Regions from separate parts of the Homo sapiens genome. Here regions 1, 2, 3, 4, 5 and 7 are each linked to region 6. The links are contacts of gene promoters, found by promoter capture Hi-C in blood cells and fetal thymus (Javierre and others, 2016). All regions are on one chromosome and are shown on one strand. Each heading gives the region's core, a stretch centred on a gene start or on the middle of the fragment in contact. The rest is flanking DNA. Distances are from core to core; before and after follow the strand shown. Region 1 has its middle 3.8 kb from the start of HFE. Region 2 holds the start of H2BC4 (H2B clustered histone 4). Region 3 holds the start of H2BC6-AS1 (H2BC6 antisense RNA 1). Region 4 holds the start of H4C3 (H4 clustered histone 3). Region 5 holds the start of H3C4 (H3 clustered histone 4). Region 6 holds the start of H1-5 (H1.5 linker histone, cluster member). Region 7 holds the start of H1-4 (H1.4 linker histone, cluster member).

The links. Contacts are between HindIII fragments. The CHiCAGO score rates a contact against its expected background, and 5 or more counts as called.
Region 1: a contact is called between a fragment that was not itself captured here and the fragment with the promoter of H1-5 in region 6, in 4 of 17 cell types (monocytes, fetal thymus, total B cells and 1 more). The highest score is 8.2, in monocytes.
Region 2: the fragment with the promoter of H2BC4 here is called in contact with the fragment with the promoter of H1-5 in region 6 in 15 of 17 cell types (activated CD4 T cells, neutrophils, M0 macrophages and 12 more); the score reaches 21.3 in activated CD4 T cells.
Region 3: the fragment with the promoter of H2BC6-AS1 here is called in contact with the fragment with the promoter of H1-5 in region 6 in 15 of 17 cell types (erythroblasts, M0 macrophages, total B cells and 12 more); the score reaches 19.1 in erythroblasts.
Region 4: the fragment with the promoter of H4C3 here is called in contact with the fragment with the promoter of H1-5 in region 6 in 17 of 17 cell types (M0 macrophages, activated CD4 T cells, erythroblasts and 14 more); the score reaches 18.9 in M0 macrophages.
Region 5: a contact is called between a fragment that was not itself captured here and the fragment with the promoter of H1-5 in region 6, in 17 of 17 cell types (fetal thymus, M0 macrophages, erythroblasts and 14 more). The highest score is 34.8, in fetal thymus.
Region 7: the fragment with the promoter of H1-4 here is called in contact with the fragment with the promoter of H1-5 in region 6 in 14 of 17 cell types (non-activated CD4 T cells, fetal thymus, total B cells and 11 more); the score reaches 13.3 in non-activated CD4 T cells.

The regions. Positions count from the first base shown.
Region 1 is chr6:26,082,305-26,085,048 of GRCh38, reverse strand. No RefSeq gene overlaps it. Among named protein-coding and RNA genes, the nearest start is that of HFE, 3.8 kb to the left of the region's middle. The HindIII fragment of the contact is 4,963 bases long and covers 1-2,744 here.
Region 2 is chr6:26,122,586-26,125,482 of GRCh38, reverse strand. H2BC4 (H2B clustered histone 4) reads left to right here and starts at 1,557. Exons shown (of 1, transcript NM_003526.3): 1 at 1,557-2,016. The coding sequence starts at 1,579. The coding sequence ends at 1,959. It overlaps H2AC6 (H2A clustered histone 6), which reads right to left and starts at 1,311. Exons shown (of 1, transcript NM_003512.4): 1 at 793-1,311. The coding sequence starts at 1,250. The coding sequence ends at 858. RefSeq lists enhancers at 935-1,144, 1,235-1,374, 709-1,394, 202-1,401, 1,645-2,384 and 4 more and a silencer at 1,408-1,773. The HindIII fragment of the contact is 15,442 bases long and covers 1-2,897 here.
Region 3 is chr6:26,171,436-26,174,202 of GRCh38, reverse strand. It overlaps H2BC6-AS1 (H2BC6 antisense RNA 1), which reads left to right and starts at 1,430. Exons shown (of 3, transcript NR_186648.1): 1 at 1,430-2,168. RefSeq lists an enhancer at 1,464-2,356. The HindIII fragment of the contact is 22,011 bases long and covers 1-2,767 here.
Region 4 is chr6:26,102,611-26,105,357 of GRCh38, reverse strand. It overlaps H4C3 (H4 clustered histone 3), which reads right to left and starts at 1,425. Exons shown (of 1, transcript NM_003542.4): 1 at 1,021-1,425. The coding sequence starts at 1,410. The coding sequence ends at 1,099. RefSeq lists enhancers at 1,063-1,753, 1,778-1,887. The HindIII fragment of the contact is 10,429 bases long and covers 1-2,747 here.
Region 5 is chr6:26,195,272-26,197,991 of GRCh38, reverse strand. H3C4 (H3 clustered histone 4) reads left to right here and starts at 706. Exons shown (of 1, transcript NM_001376937.1): 1 at 706-1,208. The coding sequence starts at 742. The coding sequence ends at 1,152. It also overlaps the pseudogene H1-12P. RefSeq lists enhancers at 377-977, 1,356-1,465, 978-1,579, 2,326-2,375. The HindIII fragment of the contact is 159 bases long and covers 1,335-1,493 here.
Region 6 is chr6:27,866,273-27,869,411 of GRCh38, reverse strand. It overlaps H1-5 (H1.5 linker histone, cluster member), which reads left to right and starts at 1,824. Exons shown (of 1, transcript NM_005322.3): 1 at 1,824-2,620. The coding sequence starts at 1,883. The coding sequence ends at 2,563. RefSeq lists enhancers at 1,565-1,634, 1,895-2,004. The HindIII fragment of the contact is 3,270 bases long and covers 1-2,839 here.
Region 7 is chr6:26,154,759-26,157,709 of GRCh38, reverse strand. H1-4 (H1.4 linker histone, cluster member) reads right to left here and starts at 1,381. Exons shown (of 1, transcript NM_005321.3): 1 at 595-1,381. The coding sequence starts at 1,319. The coding sequence ends at 660. RefSeq lists enhancers at 1-148, 878-957, 1,218-1,377, 902-1,653 and a silencer at 538-587. The HindIII fragment of the contact is 19,818 bases long and covers 1-2,951 here.

The sequences.
Region 1 (2,744 bases), core at 153-2,652, 1.8 Mb after region 6:
TGTTTTTCATGGACCAATAATATCTATTATAAGGACATACCACAACATATTTTATTTATTCATTCATCAGCCGATGGACATTGGTTTGTTTCTACTTTATGGCTATTGGGAATAGTGCTGTTATAAACATTTATGTACAAGTTTTTTTGTAGACTTATGTTTTGATTTCTTTTGGTTATATATCTAGAAGTGGGTTTGCTGGGTCATATGGTAACACTGTTTAACCTTTTGAGGAATTGCCACATTCTTTTCCAAAGTAAGCATTTTATCCTCCTATCAGCAGTGTATGAGAGTTCTGATTTCTCTCCATCTTTGCCTGGGTTTTTGAATCAGGGCCCCAGATAGAACAAAAATGTGGTTATTCAGTTGTTCCACCATCACTTGTTGAGAAGACTCTTTTTTCATTGAAGTGTTTTGGCACCCTTATCAAAAATCAATCTACCATAAATGTGAGAGTTTATTTCTGGAGTCTCAATTTTATCCCATTATGCTATAATCTATAATCCTATCTTTTTTTTTTTTTGACAGAGCCTCACTCTATTGCCCAGGTTGGAGTGCAGTGGCCCAATCCCGGCCACTGGCTCCTCCTCCCAGGTTCAAGCAATTCTCCTGCCTCAGCCTCCCAAGCAGCTGGGATTACAGGTACCTGCCACCATGCCTGGTTAATTTTTGTATTTTTAGTAGAGACGGGGTTTCACCATGTTGGTCAGGCTGGTCTGGAACTCCTGACCTCAGGTGATCTGCCCACCTCAGCCTCCCAAAGTGCTGGGATTACAGGCATGAGCCACCACACCCAGACTATAATCCTATCTTTATGTCAGGACTACACTGTCTTGATTACTATAGCTTTTTAGTAAATTGAATTCAAGAAGTTTCTCAACTTCAAATTTGATCTTTTTTTGGAAGACTATATTAGCTATTCTCAGTCTGCTGAATTTCCCTAGGAATTTTAGGATCTATTATCAATGTCTATTCTATTTTTGTATATGTTTTAATATTTTCATAAGAAACTTTTTTCATTTAAACTTTTTTTTTTAAGAAAAATAGTGAAAATCAGAACACTGGGGGTCAGGCGCATTTAACAGGCAGAAGAAGAATAAAAACTTGTCATATAAACAAAAAAGAAATGACCAATCACATTGTGGAAGCCATGGAGTGGTTATAGGTGCCAAAGGCTGCAGAGAAATGGTGTCAGATATACCTGAAAATTGTCCATTGTATTTGGCCATTAAGAGACTTAGAAGACTTAAGCCATAGATTGCTCAGTGAGACCCCGAGGGCAAATGGTCTGAAGGTGAATAGATCATTTCACCTTTAAGAGAGCAGGTAGGAAGCTATAAATCCAAGATTAAAAAGTTGACTGAACTGTTAAGGAAGAAACTCTAATCTTGAGCCACCCTATCCTGGCTCCACCTTCTGCTGCAAGCAAACAGAAATGCTGAAATTCAACACTCACAAAGGCTGGTAAGCTGGAAATGACAAAAATTACTCCTGGGAAAGTCAGATTTAGAATTAGGCCATATTTGTTGGGGTTCAGATTTTCATGTACACTTGGGAAAGGGTTTAGCTTATAGGCACATGCATGAAGGGAACTGGTATAGGGCTGTGTTCATAAGGTCAAGAGTTGAAGGCCAGGCATGGAGGCTCTTGCCTGTAATCCCAGCACTTTGGGAGGCCGAGGCAGGAGGATGGCTTGAGCCCAGGAATTCAAGACCAGCCTGGGAAACATAGGGAGATGCTGTCTTCACAAAACAATTAAAAAATAAAATTAGTCAGGTGTGGTGGCACACACTTGTGGTCCCAGCCACTCAGGAGGTTGGGAAGATCACTTAAGCCTGGGACATTGAGGCTGTAGTCAGCCATGATAGTGCTACTGCACACCAGTCTAGGTGACAGAATGAGACCCTGTCTCCAAAAAAAGAGCTGTATCCACATCCCAGGAAAGTGGTTGAAGATCTACTTTTCTCTGTAAACCTAATAAAGAATAGAGTGACAAATGTGTGTTGTGGAAAGAAATGGGGTGAGAGCTACGTAGATGCAAAACAATACATCCCCACATACCACTTGTTAATCATCCTTTTCCACCCACTTATGGGATGAATTGCATCTCCCCAAAAGATACTCTGTCCTAACCCTCAGTAGCTGTGAACCTGACCTTATCTGGAATACGGTGAGTTCACTGGTTAAGAAGAGATTATAGTGGAATAGGGTGAGTCCTCCAACCAATGACTGGGGTCCTCACAGACACAGAGGGATGATGGCCAGGTAGAGATGGAGGCAGAGATTGGAGTTATGCTGCCACAAACCAAACACAGGAAGCTGCTAGAAGTGGAAACAGGCAAGAAAGAATCCTTCCCCAGAGGCTACAGAGGGATCTTGGCCCTGATAATACCTTGATCTCAACTGGCCTACGTAACTGTGAGAGAATAAATTTCTTTTGTTCTAAGCCACCCAGTTGATAGTACTTTGTTACGGCAGCCCTAAGGAACTTGATATACATTTCTTTTACTGTCATAGAAGTTTTGAATCTTTTAAGTAGGTCTGTACCCTTCCTCCCAGTGTCAACACATGGAATTCCTCTCCTTGTGCCTTGAAAAGTGAAAGGTGTTTGAACTGGTAATGAAAGAAATCTCAGCATGAGGCCAGATGCTGTACCTCACACCTGTAATCTCAGCACTTCGGGAGGATGAGGCGGGCAGATCACTTGAGGTCAGGAGTTCTAGACTACTCTGGCCAACATGGTG
Region 2 (2,897 bases), core at 308-2,807, 1.7 Mb after region 6:
TACAAGGTATGTGCCACCACGCCCAACTTATTTTTTTATTTATTATTTTTATTTAGTAGAGAGGTGTTTCACCATGTTGGCCAGGTTAGTGTCGAAGTCGTGACCTCAGGTGATCAGCCCCCTCGGCCTCCCAAAGTGGTAGGATTAGAGGGGTGAGCAGAAAGCAAAGGTTTTTGAGTGGCCACAGGCCCCACTCTATTTCCTTTTCTGCCTGTAATGGCAACCTAGACGCTTGAGCTTCTTAAAATACAAGAGTAAGTTGCATGTCAGGCACCGTTCTACATTAGGGACATTAGTCTGTTTTACAGACACCTTTCAACTCCCTGGTTAACTTTTAGGTAATATACTCTGCACTTTAGCAGGAATGGGACCTATAACTCTCACAGAATTAGGAAAGTGAGGCTGCCTACAGCCTAAATTGAGAAAAAAATAGACGGGGGACTAGTCGGAGGACCAAACAAGGTTACCAACACGTTAGAGTTTTGCCTTCAATTTACATTTTTAAAGTAATCACAACGAAGTGTTTAGATCACGAGGCATCCCTGCATGTAAACTGTTAGGCACTAACTATGGTCGATCTTACAAAGCATTAACTAGAATATTTCTTTAGAGTATGATAGTACGTAACTGACCTACTATTACATACAAACAGACCAACCTTTAGTAACAGCGCTCCCCAAAAACCGAAAAGCAGTAATACGCTTTGCTCAAGGTTGGCATAAAATTAACTTACCTTAGTGCCTTTTTTCCTTCTACCTACAAGCAGTGAGGTTAGCTCTTCCTTTGAAACGGTAGGGGGGCTCTGAAAAGAGCCTTTGGGTTTGATAGCGTTTCCGGGAGCTCAGATACCTGTCAAATCACTTGCCCTTGGCCTTGTGGTGACTCTCGGTCTTCTTAGGCAGAAGCACGGCCTGGATGTTAGGAAGGACGCCGCCCTGAGCAATGGTCACCCGGCCTAGCAGTTTGTTGAGCTCCTCGTCGTTGCGGATGGCCAGCTGCAAGTGGCGCGGGATGATGCGAGTCTTCTTGTTGTCGCGAGCCGCGTTGCCGGCCAGCTCCAGGATCTCGGCGGTCAGGTACTCTAACACCGCCGCCAGGTACACCGGCGCGCCTGCCCCAACCCGCTCTGCGTAGTTGCCTTTACGGAGCAGGCGGTGCACTCGGCCCACCGGGAACTGGAGACCAGCGCGAGAAGAGCGGGATTTCGCTTTGGCGCGAGCTTTGCCTCCTTGCTTACCACGTCCAGACATTGCAATCAGACAAAAATCACCAAAACCAGCGGCCTAAGCTCACGAGAAAACAAACAAAATCAAGAAATATGTAAAACATGGCCGCTTTTATAGGTAGTTCCTGGGGAGTAAATCCGACTTTTTGATTGGTCGGTAGCAAATGCTAGTCAGATAGCCAATAGAAAAGCTGTACTTTCATACCTCATTTGCATAGCTCTGCCCACGGATGACAACTGTGCAGTTTGTCTTCCAATTAACTAAGAGGTACTCTCCATCCCTCATTAGCATAAAAGCCCTATAAGTAGCAGAAATCCGCTCTTTACTTTCGACACATTTCTGGTGTTTTAAGATGCCTGAGCCAGCCAAGTCTGCTCCCGCCCCGAAGAAGGGCTCCAAGAAGGCAGTGACCAAAGCGCAGAAGAAAGATGGCAAGAAGCGCAAGCGCAGCCGCAAGGAGAGTTACTCTGTGTACGTGTACAAGGTGCTGAAACAGGTCCATCCCGACACTGGCATCTCTTCCAAGGCCATGGGCATCATGAATTCTTTCGTTAACGACATATTTGAGCGCATCGCGGGCGAGGCTTCCCGCCTGGCGCATTACAACAAGCGCTCGACCATCACCTCCAGGGAGATCCAGACGGCCGTGCGCCTGCTGCTTCCCGGAGAGCTGGCCAAGCACGCCGTGTCGGAGGGCACCAAGGCCGTCACCAAGTACACCAGCTCCAAGTAAACATTCCAAGTAAGCGTCTTAACACCTAACCCCAAAGGCTCTTTTAAGAGCCACCCAGATACCCACTAAAAGAGCTGTGGCCAGACGCCAAATTTTATTTGGCGGCGGAGGGGTATTAGAATATAGGAACTGGAGAGGGGTGGGGACAAGTGTTGCAGCTTAGAGAGGGACAAAGGGTCCTGAACCCGAAAGAAGCCAGCCATTAAAAATGGCTTTGGGGTCAATTCGTTGTGCTTAAATTTAAAATGGAGACAAGCGGCCATTTTGCTAACTCGGCGTTCCCGGAAGAAACCGCAGGCTCGCTTAGGTTTCAGACCCAGCTGTCTGTCCCTGTCTACGTCGCCAGGATCAACGGTTGCCGTAATGTCATAATTTCGCCACCAGCTTCTAGCCAATAGGCTGTCCTGTCATTTTAAATATTAACCAATCGAGGGAAAGCTGTTTTGAGACTCTGATTTACATAGCGGACCGGAGTGGGAACCTGGGCAGTAACTGCCTAAGGAAGGACTCCCCCTCTGTTTTCGTGGCGCACACCTTCGTAGTATACTGAAGGGTGTGTCTCCTGGGTTTCCAACTGCCCCGGTAATAGTCTTTTAACCTAATATGCGTCAGTTTTGATAACAACACTAAGGCAGTACAGAACTAAAGATGTAAGCACTGCGCCAGATGTTGCTTCATACATCTTATTCTATTCAACTGGTTTATTCAAGATTCAAATCAAATCAAATTTTGCTTGAATCCCAGTGCTCAGTCAGCCATAAATGGTGTGTTGCCTGATTGAAACTTAAAATCTCCGTAGGGGGCTTGTAACATGCAGACAAGTTTGAAAGTTGCTTTAGGAGAAGCCAACTCTTAACTGCTGGGTAAATTGACAAGCCTTCGAACACTGAACTGAAGGCCAGTAAGGACTAGGCGCTGGGTGGGGGAGAATGAAGAGG
Region 3 (2,767 bases), core at 181-2,680, 1.7 Mb after region 6:
AAAAAAATGCCTATTATGAGAAAAAATGGAAACCAGGAGAAATTGCAGAGACCATGTTATTTAAATAAATAGCTGATTATATAGGGTTTATTCTAAGAATAGAAGGAAGTTTAGTATTCTAAATCTGCCAGTTTAAGAAATTAATAAAGGAAGGCCCAGAGCAGTGGCTCACGCCTGTATTCCTAGCACTTTAGGAGGCTGAGGCAGGTGGATCACTTAATGTCAGGAGTTCAAGGCCAGCCTGGCCAATGGCGGCCTATCTTCTTCTGATAATACAAAACTTAGCCAGATGTGGTGGCACGCACCTGTAGTCCCTGTTACTTGGGAAAGTGAGGCAGAAGAATCGCTTGAACCTGGGAGGTAGAGGTTGTAATGAGCTTAGATCAGGGCACTGCACTCCAGCCTGGGAGACAGAGTGAGATTCCATCTCAAAATAAAAACTAAAATAATAAAAAATAAAATAAAATAAAATAAAATAAATAAAATAAAAAAGAGATTAATAAAGAAAAAACATGATCATCTCCAAAGATACTGCGAAAGCATTTAACAAAATATAACACTCTTTAATCATAAACACTTAACAGACTACAATGAGAAGAGAACTTCATAAGGAGGAGCTACAGCGAGTATAACACTTAATGGTGCCGTTTTGGAAGGATTCCCATAGAGGCGGAAGGAAGACAAGTGTGGTGAGAAAGTACTCCTATTCAACACGGCATCACAGGGTTTGGCCAATACCATGAGATAGGAACAGGCAGTCAGAAGAGCAAGGATTCAATAGGAAAAGATGATTATCTTTGAAAATAACATAATTGTCAAGGTAAAAGTTCACAAGAATCTATAAACAATTAGATCAAATAAGAATTGGAATTAGTGGGCATAGGCCAGGCGTTGTGGCTCACGCCTGTAATCCCAGCACTTTGGGAGGCCGAGGCGGGCGGATCACGAGGTCAGGAGATCGAGACCATCCTGGCTAACACGGTGAAACCCCGTCTCTACTAAAAAATACAAAAAAACTTAGTCGGGCGTGGTGACTGTAGTCCCAGCTACTCGGGAAGCTGAGGCAGGAGAATGGCGTGAACCCGGGAGGCAGAGCTTGCAGTGAGCCGAGACTGCGCCACTGTACTCCAGCCTGGGGGACAGAGCGAGACTCCGTTTCAAAAAAAAAAAAAAAAAAATTAAAGTCATATGAAGATTAATATGTAACATCTTCTTCGACTTAAATGTTCATTTTTTTCCTTCTGACTTTAGAAGAAATTAAAATATTTTCATGAGCCTCCAAAAGAACTGCGGACCCTAGACACCGTGCCTGCTGTTTAATGGAGTACGGCACTGCGTGTACCGGAAGATGATTTTTTTAAAAAAAAACTCAATTAGGAAATAATTATTCGCACACATTCATATACATACATACATACACTGAATCCTCACACGAAGAGCCCTACAGGCGTGAGAACAGTAAGGGAGATGCAAGAAAGGTCTCCTTGGAGTTGGGAGGCGTATTTACAGCTACTAGAGAAGGGGGAAGTGCCAGCTCCCCGAGAAGAAAGCAGGAGGATGCTGAGAGACTAAAGCTGAAATTTTCTGCCTGCTTCCTCACTCTTTTCGTTGGTTTCAGCCGTCTGAAAAACCCTTGTGAGAGGAGCAAAAAGGTCAAGGGAAGATTGTTGCCTTGCTCTCAGTCTTCAAAATTTTCGATCCTCCGTTTTTTTTGTTTTGAGACGCAGTCTCGCTCTGTCGCCTAGGCTGGAGTGCAGCGGCGCGATCTCGGTCACTGCAACCTCCGCCTCCCTGGTTCTAGCGATTCTTCTGCCTCAGCCTCCTGAGTAGCTGGGACTACAGGCGCGTGCCACCACACCCGGCTAATTTTTTTGTACTTTTGATAGGGACGGGGTCTCACGGTGTTAGCCAGGATGGTCTCTATCTCCTGAACTCGTGATCCGCCCGCCTCGGCCTCCCAAAGTGCTGGGATTACAGGCGTGAGCCACCGCGCCCGGCCGGTCCTCTGTTTTTAAACTGTAAAGGACTCCAGCGGATTGTTCGAAGTCTCCGATATCCCGCGATCTGGTGGCCGCAGAAGAAAGAGGCCGAGTCGGCGGGGACTGGGAACCACCAGTTAGCGGCCTACGGGCAACCTCCCGGACGCGCGCGCCGGGCCGACGTTAAACGTACGTGACGCCCTATGCGGGAGCCGGATGGGCGTAACGGGGCGGCGGCGTAACGTGTGGCTCTGTGGTTAGGGCACGGAGGGGCGTGGCCGGACGGCCCTATGAGGGGGCCGGCGTTTTTGGCGAGGGTTGATGGGATGACCCTATGAGGGAGCCTGCGTGGAGGGGCACGACCGGCCCCAAGACTCCTTTTCATGGCCGCATAGCCGCACCGGGAGTAGGATGACCGCTGTTATTTTTCAGGACCTCTCATCTTCGGTTTGAAATTCTTTGCTTTTTTCCGGCTTTGTGTGGCTATTTAGTATTAGCATTTTAGGGCAGTTTCATTTCCTTTAAAGTAAAACTCTCCAAAGTGGTCTCCGGACCAGCAGCATCAGCATCACCTGCATAATTTAGAAGTACAAATTATCAGGTCCTACCTCAGATCTAATGCATCAGAAAAGTTTTGTGACTGCTTCAAAACATTGTTTCCCTTAATTCAGATGCTGGAGGAGACCTTTCAAATGGCAGCTTAGCATAAGCTAACCAGTTTTTAACTTCAGGTTCATTACCAAAGCCACATCAGTGCTTAGGCCTTATCCACTCAGACCTCCTTGATG
Region 4 (2,747 bases), core at 176-2,675, 1.8 Mb after region 6:
CATAAGGTTAAAAACAAAATCAATAAGTTATGGTTCTTCCTCCAGTTCTGGGGATTATTAGACCACTTTTTTGTTTTGTTTTGTTTTGGATGGAGCCTCGCTCTGTCACCCAGGCTAGAGTGCAGTGGCACAATCTCGGTTCACTGCAACCTCTGCCTCCTGGGTTCAAGCAGTTCTCTGGCTCAGCCTCCCACGTAGCTGGGATTACAGGTGCCCGCCACCACGCCCGGCTAATTTTTGTATTTTTAGTAGACGGGGTTTCACCATCTTGGCCAGGCTGGTCTTGAACGCCAGACCTCGTGATCCACCCACCTTGGCCTACCAAACTGCTGGGAATACAGGCGTGAGCCACCGCGCCCGGACTTAGACCACTTTGTTTTGGCCAATAGGACAACAGCCATAGAACCCTCCGCAAATGAGAGCTTGTCCCTAAAGATGCTTTATTTACATAGCTGTGTGCCGCATGAGCCAAAAGGTGATAACCTTTGTTCAACACGCGCCTCCAGCCCTTCGGTTAAGTCCAAAGTACCATTCTTAGAATGCTCTAAAATACATAATTTTTTTTTTTTTTTTTTTTTTTTTTTTTGAGGAGTCTCTCTCTGTCTCCCAGGCTGGAGGGGAGTGGCGCGATCTCGGCTCACTGCAATCTCTGCTTCCGGGCTAGCTGGGCCTACAGGTGCAGACCACCACGCCCGGCTAAGTTTTGTATTTTTTTTGGTAGAGGGGGTTTCACCATTTTGGCCAGGCTGGTCTCGGATTCTTGATCTCAAGTGATACACTAGCTTTGGCCTCCCAAAGTGCTGGGATTACAGTCGTGAGCCACTGCGCCCAGCAAAATGCTTTTTGTGGAGCCAATCACTTTATTAGCGCTTACCTCTCTATGCCTACTTTATGCTTTGAAATTTTGTCACAGTGTGGCCGGTCATGGCAAACACAATTCATTCTTATGCAGGATGTCACGGTTATTTCTGTCATCCAAACTCATTCTCGCAACGCATTTCAGCTCTTTAAACGACTTTGTGAGCGGCCCTGAAAAGGGCCTTTGGGTTTTTTTGTTTTTGTTTTTTGAAGTTCTCAGGAGACCGCGTATTCTTAGATTCAGCCGCCGAAGCCATACAGAGTGCGCCCCTGACGTTTTAGGGCATATACTACATCCATGGCTGTGACAGTTTTGCGCTTGGCGTGCTCCGTATAGGTGACGGCGTCTCGAATAACGTTCTCTAAGAAAACCTTAAGCACACCTCGAGTCTCCTCATAGATAAGACCGGAAATGCGCTTGACGCCACCGCGCCGAGCCAAACGGCGAATAGCCGGTTTTGTAATGCCCTGGATGTTATCCCGGAGCACCTTACGATGGCGCTTAGCACCACCCTTCCCCAAGCCTTTTCCGCCTTTGCCGCGACCAGACATGATTCCTATCGCAGTGGAAGGTATGAACTGAAACAGTTCCTTAAATACAAACTTGGCGGACCTGATTGAAAACAACATGAGTTGGCGCGGTTTTTTTTTTTTTTCAAATTTGGTCACCAAGTGGGTGGAGCAAGAAAAACTGTTTCATTATGGTTCATTGTTTTGATTGGCCAGTGACAGCTTGCTCTTTGTGGGAGTGGAAGGGTGTTTGCAAGTTGAATGCGCTGTATTCCTGTCAGCTTAATGACGCTAAGCATAGCCCCATTCCACATTTCTTTTTATTTCCACTTGCTAACTAATAAATTACGGAATAGTTTATTGGGGAACATACAAATAATGTTTAAAGGAGGTCAGATTTATAGGTCAAGGGATTTACCCTCCCAATCATTTTAATATTTTTATTTAAACCAGGCATTTTGATGGCCTTCTCTGTGCTGGACAAGGTATAAGTTTGGCTATGAAGTTTCACTCCTAAAGACCCTATGTTTTGGGAAGGCAAAAAGGTAGCCAAATAATTGCAAATTAAAACCTCATAAGTGCAAACTTCTTCCTCGTCACTTTCCCTATCTCGATTCAAATATTTGTTGAATGACTCATTTTTCTGCAAAAGTCTGAGAGAGACAGGGAATATAAACTTAAGTCTGGATAATATGTTTTCCCGGGACGCTCTTCCTGGTCTGCTGTGCCTGTTTGCTGTGCCTGAAATTCCAAACACTCTTCCCTTCCCTCCGTTTTTAATCCCCTTTCAACTTGCTACAGCTTTAGAGAAAAGAACATTCGTTTTGTACAGTTGGGGATTAATTGAAGTGTAGGGCTAATACTTGATTAAGGTCATTACAAAATCTACAGGGTCTTCCTCTGGGAGGTTTTTGTGATAAGATTATTGGTGTTAAAATAAGGCTAATCCCCTTGAAAAATAAATAGAATAGCAGAATTGGGTCTGAATGTGGTTTGAAGAAAGGGACTTCTCAATTCAAAATTTTATTCTTAGCTTCCTGCGGGAGCTTTCCAGAATGCCCATAAGATCCACTTTTGTTTAAAAAACAAAAACAACCCCACCCACCACTCTCTGGTTAATAAATGAATTTCTATTGGGAATATTTAGAATGGGGCTGTGGCCTGTGAGAGACATTATATAGTAACCTCAGACTTGCTCACATGAAGAGAAGAAATCCAGGAATGGAGAAAAAAGACCCAGGAAAGGCCAGAATGCTCTACATGTCATATTGTTTGTATCACTTCTGAAATAATTGATTACATTCTTCTGCCCCAAATTGAGTTCTTAGGTTCTTCCACTCACTGTCCACATGCCACAACACAGACCTTATAACTAGAGA
Region 5 (2,720 bases), core at 165-2,664, 1.7 Mb after region 6:
CCAGACGGCCCTTAGGTGGAGCTTCTTAGCACAGTGTTCAGCATGACTAAAAGGGCACACTGGTCTTTTTGTGCCATTTATAAATTTGGCTTTTTTTTTTTTTTTTTTTTACAGCAGATTACACAAATACCAGTTGAACTTGTAAAAGATAAGAGTGCTTTCATATGAGGATGACATATTGTGGTGAAATTAAATGTGTTCATGTAGCTTAACATCAGGTTTCATATTGTTACTTATGAGTTAATAGTCATGGTGCATTTGGAACAAATTATTGAAAATATCTCCAAGTTTAAATAGACAAATCAAGATATGAAATTAACCTTTCTAAACTTAAGAGGGTAAAAAGAAATCACTTGGCCAATCACAACTAGCGCGCGTCTTTTTAAAACGTTGATCAAAGCCAGTTTCAGCGCCAACATTTAAAAAAAAATTAAGACACGTCATCCTAGTAGCTAGACACAATTTTGCCAAGGAAAACCAAAGTACGTTTTAAATAAAAGCTAGAAACATGGCACAGAGGGGAAAGGGTTGAAAACACCAGCAGTTAAAGATGGACGGAGGAAAGTTTTAATATTTGGTCTACATGCAGGAGATGTTCTGTCAGGGAGTGGGCGTCTCCACCAATCGAGCTGCAGGGGAAAGGCTGCCTTGTCCAATCAGAACAGGGGTGTCTTTATATATACGGGTACGAAAGGCTAGACTTTCGTTTTTTCGTCATTTAGCAGGGTTTAGAAGTTCGCAATGGCTCGTACCAAGCAGACTGCTCGCAAGTCCACGGGTGGGAAAGCGCCACGCAAGCAGCTGGCCACCAAGGCTGCTCGAAAGAGCGCTCCAGCCACCGGCGGCGTGAAGAAGCCCCACCGTTACCGGCCCGGCACGGTGGCTCTGCGCGAGATCCGCCGCTACCAGAAGTCGACCGAGCTGCTGATTCGCAAACTGCCATTCCAGCGTCTAGTCCGTGAGATCGCGCAGGACTTCAAGACTGATCTGCGTTTTCAGAGCTCGGCGGTGATGGCGCTGCAGGAGGCCTGCGAGGCCTACCTGGTGGGGCTGTTTGAGGACACCAACCTATGCGCCATTCACGCCAAGCGAGTGACTATCATGCCCAAGGACATCCAGCTTGCTCGCCGCATTCGTGGGGAGAGGGCGTAAATTGTCTTGTGAATGTGTGCTAACCAAAACCCAAAGGCTCTTTTCAGAGCCAACCACCTTTTCTATAAAAGTTGCTGTTTACTGTTGCTGTCCGTAAACTGGAACCTCTGTTCACTCAAGGTAAGTAAGCATTCTTGCCTCTATCCGTTCCCCCTCCCCTCACGGAATTGGTGCAAAAAGCTTTATTATAATTGGGGAGTTCTTAAAACAGCCTTTAAGGTACTCTTATATCTCCTTGTTTTGGGGGCCGCTTTCTTAGGCTTGGATGCCTCCGGCTTGGGAACTTTCTTGGCCACCTTTGACCAACCAACCTTCTCCAGCAGCCTCCACCAGCAAAAGCTTTTGGGGTCCGCTTAGTACTCTTTTTCGGAATAAGGACGCCCCAAGCTTTCTTGGGCCTCTCGGCTGCCAGGACAGCTGTCTTGGGCATGACTGCAGCGGCTTTTCTGGCCTCGGTCTTGATTTTCCTAACACTGCCTGGTTTGGCGGGAATGAACCTGAGGCGCTGCACTCCTTAGCACGAAGATGCCCTCGTTTGTTTTCAAGGCCCAACTTTATTCAAATAATTTTTAAAAATTTGTATTTATTTTTAGGGACGAGGTCTCACTGTGTTACCCAGGCTGGCCTCAAAACTCCTTAGCTTGGCCAGGCGAGGTGGCTCAGGCCTGTAATCACAGCACTTTAGGATGCCAAGGCGGGCGGATCACGTGATGCCAAGAGTTCGAGACCAGCCTGCCCAACACATTGAAACTTCGTCTCTACTGAGAATACAAAAATTAGCCGGGTGTGGTGGCACACGCCTGCAGTCCCAGCTACATGGAAAGCTGAGGCAGGAGAAGGGCTTGAACCCGGGAGGCGGAAGTTGCAGTGAACCGAGATCACACCACTGCACTCCAGCCTGGGCAGCAGAGCTAGACTCCTTCAAAAAAAAAAAAAAAATCCCCAAGGACAAACAAAACCACCAAAAACAACTCCTTAGCTTAAGAGATTCTCCCGCCTTGGCCTCACAAAATGCTGAGATTACAAACGTAGGCCACCGCGACCGGCAAGGGCCGATCTTCATATCGTAGCCGCCAACACCTACTTGAGCGCGGCCACAGAGAAGGCCGCTGCGCTTCTTGGAGACGGCTAAGTCATTAGTGATGAACTCACATACCGGAGGGGCCTGGACATCTTGCACTTCACTGCAACTTCGGACTTGCAACCTTTTTCTTTACTTCAGTCTTTGACTTGGGAGATAGACCAGGAGTCACGGCATGTACAGTTTCGGACATGATTGTAGGTTTGGATATCTAACAGTTAAAAAAAAAAAAAGTCAGGCTGCGAGTGTGTCTGTGATTACGTGTGTGTCACACACAGACACGCTGCGCGCTGATTGGTTCCCAGCTCAGTCTTTCAGCTTGGCAGCAACCTAGTCTCAACCCTGTTTCTGAGTTGTGTTTGCGGAAATTCAGAAAATCAAAATAGTTTAAATTTCCTGAGGAGGAATCACACCAATTCTATTCTACAATGAACTGGAACGGCTACGGTGTTATGATCTTTACATTTTCTTTCTCTAGTTTTTACTT
Region 6 (3,139 bases), core at 575-3,074:
AAATTTATAACACAGCAAAAGGGCTAGGTAATAAATAGCTTAGGGTTTAAAGGCCATATATAGTCTCTGTCACACACTCTTTAGTTTTTAGTTAGTTTGCTTTTTCGAGACAGGATCTTGCTCCATTGCCCTGGCTGGAGTGCAGTGCTGCTATCATTGCTCACTGCAGCCTTGACACCCTGAATTCAAGTGATCCTCCCACCTCAGCCTCCCGAGTAGCTGAGACTACAGGCATGTGCCACCACATCCAGCAAAATGTTTTGTATTTTTATTAAAGATGGGGTTTTACCAAGTTGCCCAAGCTGGTCTCCAACTCCTGAGCTCAAGCAACCCACCTATCCCAGTGTCCCCAAGTGCTGAGATTACAGACATGAACCACCGTGCCCAGCCTTTGTTTTTGTTTTTTTTTTTTTTAACAATACTTTTAAAACATAAAGACACTTCTTAGCTTGAGGGCCATACAGAAAAAAGCCATTGTCCAGATTTGGCCATAGTCTGCCAACTTCTCCAGGAGTTCTTAGAAGATGAAGTGCATTGGCTACTTTAAATTTTCTTGCACAGCATTTCAAGAATGAGAAATAAGTGACTGTTGATTTCATTAGGAATCCAAATCATCATTTGATCATTTTTATCATCCAGGCATCCTGTCCAATCCCCTCCACCTCCCATAAATTGTAAACTTCATTTATTTCAACCTCAGTGTATTTGCCTATGTTTTCCTGAGTTCCTCTGAACCTCTATAATGTGAAGTCGCTCAATATCCAATCCAACCTTTTCACAGTCAATAGCCAGATATTCTTCTAAAATATTAGCGCTAAAACACACAAAAATACCCATATTGATGTATCCTGGCTGCTCATAGAAGAGAGTATTCCTGATGGTGCAGCTTGTTAAATGTGGGTGGAGATTCAGGGGGAGCAGTGAGAACATTTCGAAAACCTGACAGTGTCCTGGGCCACCTAAACAGTTTGTGCATTTGAGGATCACTGGGAGCTCTTGAATAATTTTCCACAAGTTTGAGTTTTCTCTAAACTGAATTATCTATATTATTTTTCTTCCCCTTTTTTAATGGATTTGCCCAGGAACTAAAAAGAGAAAACACTCTAATTAGAAAACATAACACATTTAAGTTTGAATGTGAATCTGAGTAGTTAGATCCTTAAGTCAAAGCGATTTGTATTACTGGTGCTGCAATGCAGAAGAAGTCACTCTGACTGTGGAACTCTTCCAAGCTGCAAAATCCCATTCTGTAAAGACATTAGCACATGGAAACTCCTAGGACACAGAACCAGTTTGTAAAGTCAAGTCTATGTGGTTAAGTTGGGGCTGTAGGCAACCAGCTGTCCTGTGCCTGTGTTACTTGCTACAGTTAGAAACAAACTTCATGCCCAAACCAAGGAACCCAGTGTCTTTTCTCTTGCAAAAATCAAAGCATGAACTCATGGGCAAATTTTTAAAAATAACTTTCACTGGATACTTAGTAGAAATTTATCGCGACACGCTACTAACTAACATGATGCCCTCAGCCCAATGGATTCTTATGAAAAGCTGAAGGGATTTTTTAAAATATCTTTCATCAATTGCACAAGATTCTTGAAAACACAAACAAGTATGTGAACCTGGAGGCTGTTTTCCTCCTTTGGAGCTTCAAAGTGCCAAATTCTGTACCATTGTTTTAAGCATTTAATCAAATTTTGAGGACTAACAAACACAATTTGGGAGTCCAACCGCGAGCGGCGGCGGCCAGAGGGCGGTGGATTGGACGCTCCACCAATCACAGGGCAGCGCCGGCTTATATAAGCCCGGGGCCCGAGCATAGCAGCAACGCAAAACCTGCTCTTTAGATTTCGAGCTTATTCTCTTCTAGCAGTTTCTTGCCACCATGTCGGAAACCGCTCCTGCCGAGACAGCCACCCCAGCGCCGGTGGAGAAATCCCCGGCTAAGAAGAAGGCAACTAAGAAGGCTGCCGGCGCCGGCGCTGCTAAGCGCAAAGCGACGGGGCCCCCAGTCTCAGAGCTGATCACCAAGGCTGTGGCTGCTTCTAAGGAGCGCAATGGCCTTTCTTTGGCAGCCCTTAAGAAGGCCTTAGCGGCCGGTGGCTACGACGTGGAGAAGAATAACAGCCGCATTAAGCTGGGCCTCAAGAGCTTGGTGAGCAAGGGCACCCTGGTGCAGACCAAGGGCACTGGTGCTTCTGGCTCCTTTAAACTCAACAAGAAGGCGGCCTCCGGGGAAGCCAAGCCCAAAGCCAAGAAGGCAGGCGCCGCTAAAGCTAAGAAGCCCGCGGGGGCCACGCCTAAGAAGGCCAAGAAGGCTGCAGGGGCGAAAAAGGCAGTGAAGAAGACTCCGAAGAAGGCGAAGAAGCCCGCGGCGGCTGGCGTCAAAAAGGTGGCGAAGAGCCCTAAGAAGGCCAAGGCCGCTGCCAAACCGAAAAAGGCAACCAAGAGTCCTGCCAAGCCCAAGGCAGTTAAGCCGAAGGCGGCAAAGCCCAAAGCCGCTAAGCCCAAAGCAGCAAAACCTAAAGCTGCAAAGGCCAAGAAGGCGGCTGCCAAAAAGAAGTAGGAAGCTGGCGTGTGAAAACCGCAACAAAGCCCCAAAGGCTCTTTTCAGAGCCACCCAGAGACCTCTAAAAAATGGCTGTGCACAACATGTTAGATCAGGCAGCAAGATTCCTTGCATTCGAAAAATCTCGGGCAGTTCTCCCTCAACCCTAATCGAGTAACGCAAGGCAAGCAAGAGTCCAGGGTGTTGGTTGGACTCCCCACGTAGTTTACCCATGCAGTCTGTTATTAGAGTATGAATTCCAGCCGTTGGTTTTTGTTAAGTTGGTGTCAAGCTTTTTGTCAGACGCCTAGCTACAAAGAAGCTTCTTATATTTTAAAAAGCCCGCTCTATAATCTGATTGGCCAGTTTTTGTTCCATCATCTGTATGTGGTTTTTCCGCGTTTAAGCCATTTAGGCACCAGCTACTTCGGCGTCACTAATGTGTTCGGCATTAATATAATATGCTATCAACGCACAAGACAATATAGTAGCAAGTTTCAAGATGGGGTCTCTATTACATGCCAATTTGATATGACCGTGTCATTCTGTACTGGATTATTTTTTTTTCCTCAAGTCAGGTTCTCGCTGTCACCC
Region 7 (2,951 bases), core at 132-2,631, 1.7 Mb after region 6:
CTGTCAGTTTTACGTTTCGGCAAGTCCTTAATCCATCCAAATGCCACATTTAAGGACCAAGTATTTTTCTGCAGTGTCGGTTTCTAATTTTCAGTTATGTGGCAGTAGTCTCCCCAAGCACTTGAAATGTAGCCCTTCGGAAATAATGTCAGTACTATGCCACTTGTCCTAAGACGTACTCCTCTGAAGTCCCTCACTGCCTGCCATACTCGATAGGGATAACCAGTAGGCTTGTAACCAGCACAGAAACTGATACACTGTGCCGTGTTTGGAACTCGGAAAAACCCAGCTTAGAAACCCGGGAAAATCCCAACATTTTTTTTCCCATGCTATCTGGAGGCCAGGGCCTGCTAAAAGTGCAAAGCACAAGGGAGGCCCAAATGGGTTCAACTCCGACACTCGAGAACGCAAAATCGAGATGACGCCACTGCACTCCGGCTTGGGCGACGCGACGCCTTAGTCAAAAATAGCTCCGGAGACACACAAAATCCCACTCCTCTCCCCGACTTTGTTCCCGGGAGACCCGCCCCTGCTTAGCAGCGTTTTCCCGAGCCACGCCCCCTAATAGTGCAACAGCTCTTTTACTGAGAGCGGTGGGTGGCTCTGAAAAGAGCCTTTGGGTTGTGTTGGGCTTCTAAGCAGTTGGCCAAAGGAACTTTCTACTTTTTCTTGGCTGCCGCCTTCTTTGGCTTGGCTGCCTTGGGCTTGGCGGTCTTTGGTTTAGCCGCCTTGGGTTTAACTGCTTTGGCCTTCGCTGGGCTCTTGGGCGCCTTTTTTGGCTTGGCTGCTTTCGCCTTTTTCGGGCTTTTCGCTTTTTTGGCTCCAGCAGCTGCAGCCGGCTTCTTCGCCTTCTTTGGGGTCTTCTTGGCGCTCTTCTTGGGGGTGGCCGCCCCCGTCGCCTTCTTGGGCTTCTTCGCCGCTCCTGCTGGCTTCTTGGCCTTGGCCGCGCCTGCCTTTTTAGCCTTAGGCTTGGCTTCCCCAGAGGCCGCCTTCTTGTTGAGTTTGAAGGAACCCGACGCGCCGGTGCCCTTGGTCTGCACCAGGGTGCCCTTGCTCACCAGGCTCTTGAGACCCAGCTTGATGCGGCTGTTGTTCTTCTCCACGTCATAGCCAGCGGCTGCCAGCGCTTTCTTGAGAGCGGCCAAAGATACGCCGCTGCGCTCCTTGGAGGCGGCAACAGCTTTAGTAATGAGCTCGGACACCGGGGGCCCAGACGCTTTGCGCTTGGCCGCACCTGCAGACTTGCGGGCCTTCTTCTTCACGGGAGTCTTCTCGGCAGGGGCCGGAGCAGCGGGCGCGGCAGGCGCAGTCTCGGACATGTTGAAGGCAAGCGTGAGCGAGAGCAATTCGAGCCGGAAGCAGAGGCACTGGCCGGGACTCGAGCCGCGGCGCTGCGCCCGCCCGTTTATATAGGGCGGAGCTGCGCCGTGATTGGTGCGCTGTCCAGCCCGCCTCGCTGGCAGCCGCAGAGTGTCCTCTCGGATCCCGAGTTGTGTTTGTTACACCTCAAAAAAAGCCAAAAATATAAAAATTGTCTACACCGAACTGCCCGGTTTTTCTCAGATAATGATCCCCGAACCCTCAGGCTTCACGCAGATCTCAAATTATAAGGGAAGCACAAAGCCTTGTGCCAAAAACTTGCAATATTTCCCGCCGTGCTTGGCAAATTTCAACTCAGAGAAACAAAACTTTCTATTTTCTTCGTAAATTATAAACCGATCTTTAACTGTGGACTTTTCTGACCTCTCAAATATGATACTCCAAGTGGTTAGCTTCTTATATATCCAAAAAGCATGCCACTGGCATTAAGATTTTTATTACAAATCTGCACTTAAGTGAGGGAAGTAACACAGGCTCCTCGGAGAGTCCTGCCTATTGAGCCGAGGGCATTTGAGTTCATCAAACTGGTTTAGTTTAATGCCAAACAAATTATTGCCCATTTGAGATTAAGTTTTGGACCCCTGGGACATCAATCTATACAGCCATGGTTTTACATCTGTCCGCTACATCTGAGTTTTTAAACAATTCTTTGGATAATTCTTTCCCTTTCTGCTCCCAAGGGTTGGGGGCGGGGCTGTTGCTTCTCTCTTCCTCTGGACAATTGCTCCATGGATTGAGATACCTTGAATTCAGGGTATTTGGGAACGAAGGGAAGTCCAAAATGTACTCAGGGTACAGAGATGAAAAAGGATTAATTTTCAAATGTGATGTTCATAAAGTCACTGGAAGTGGAGGTGCACTTTACTTTAAAGCATTTGTCTGCAGCCTTGCTGAGTGCTTTTGGCATATGCTTCAGAACCAAATTGCAATAAAGTAGCTTAGAGCTGAAATTCAAGCATTGATGATAAGGCAAAATAAATAAGAAACGTAGATTGAAACATCTACTCCCATTATTAGTGAAACCCAGCCCCTATTATTACTGAATAGTTGAGGAATGACTAGTCCACTCACCACGTATGGTTTCAATCCCCCTGAAGATTGTATTCCAATGCTTCCCAGAGCTCAATAGAAAGAAAAATAAGTGACATGTAGTGATTAAACGACAAGTTCAAATTTCGATCTCAGAAGTAGAGCTTTGAGAGTCTATCTAAGCTATTATAAATCATTGCCCTCTGAAAACATCCTTTGAACAATGTCTGAGTGAATTTCTTTAGGTAGTTGCCCAATCAAGAAGAGTGTATGTAAGCTGGCAATGAAAGCCCAACCAAAAGAATTATTTCTGGTCCGGGCGCGGTGGCTCACGCCTGTAATCCCAGCACTTTGGGAGGCCGAGACGGGCGGATCACGAGGTCAGGAGATCAAGACCATCCTGGCTAACACGGTGAAACCCTGTATCTACTAAAAGTACAAAAAATTAGCCGGGTGCGGTGGCGGGCGCCTGCAGTCCCAGCTACTCGGGAGACTGAGGCAGGAGAATGGCGTGAACCCGGGAGGCGGAGCTTGCAGTGAGC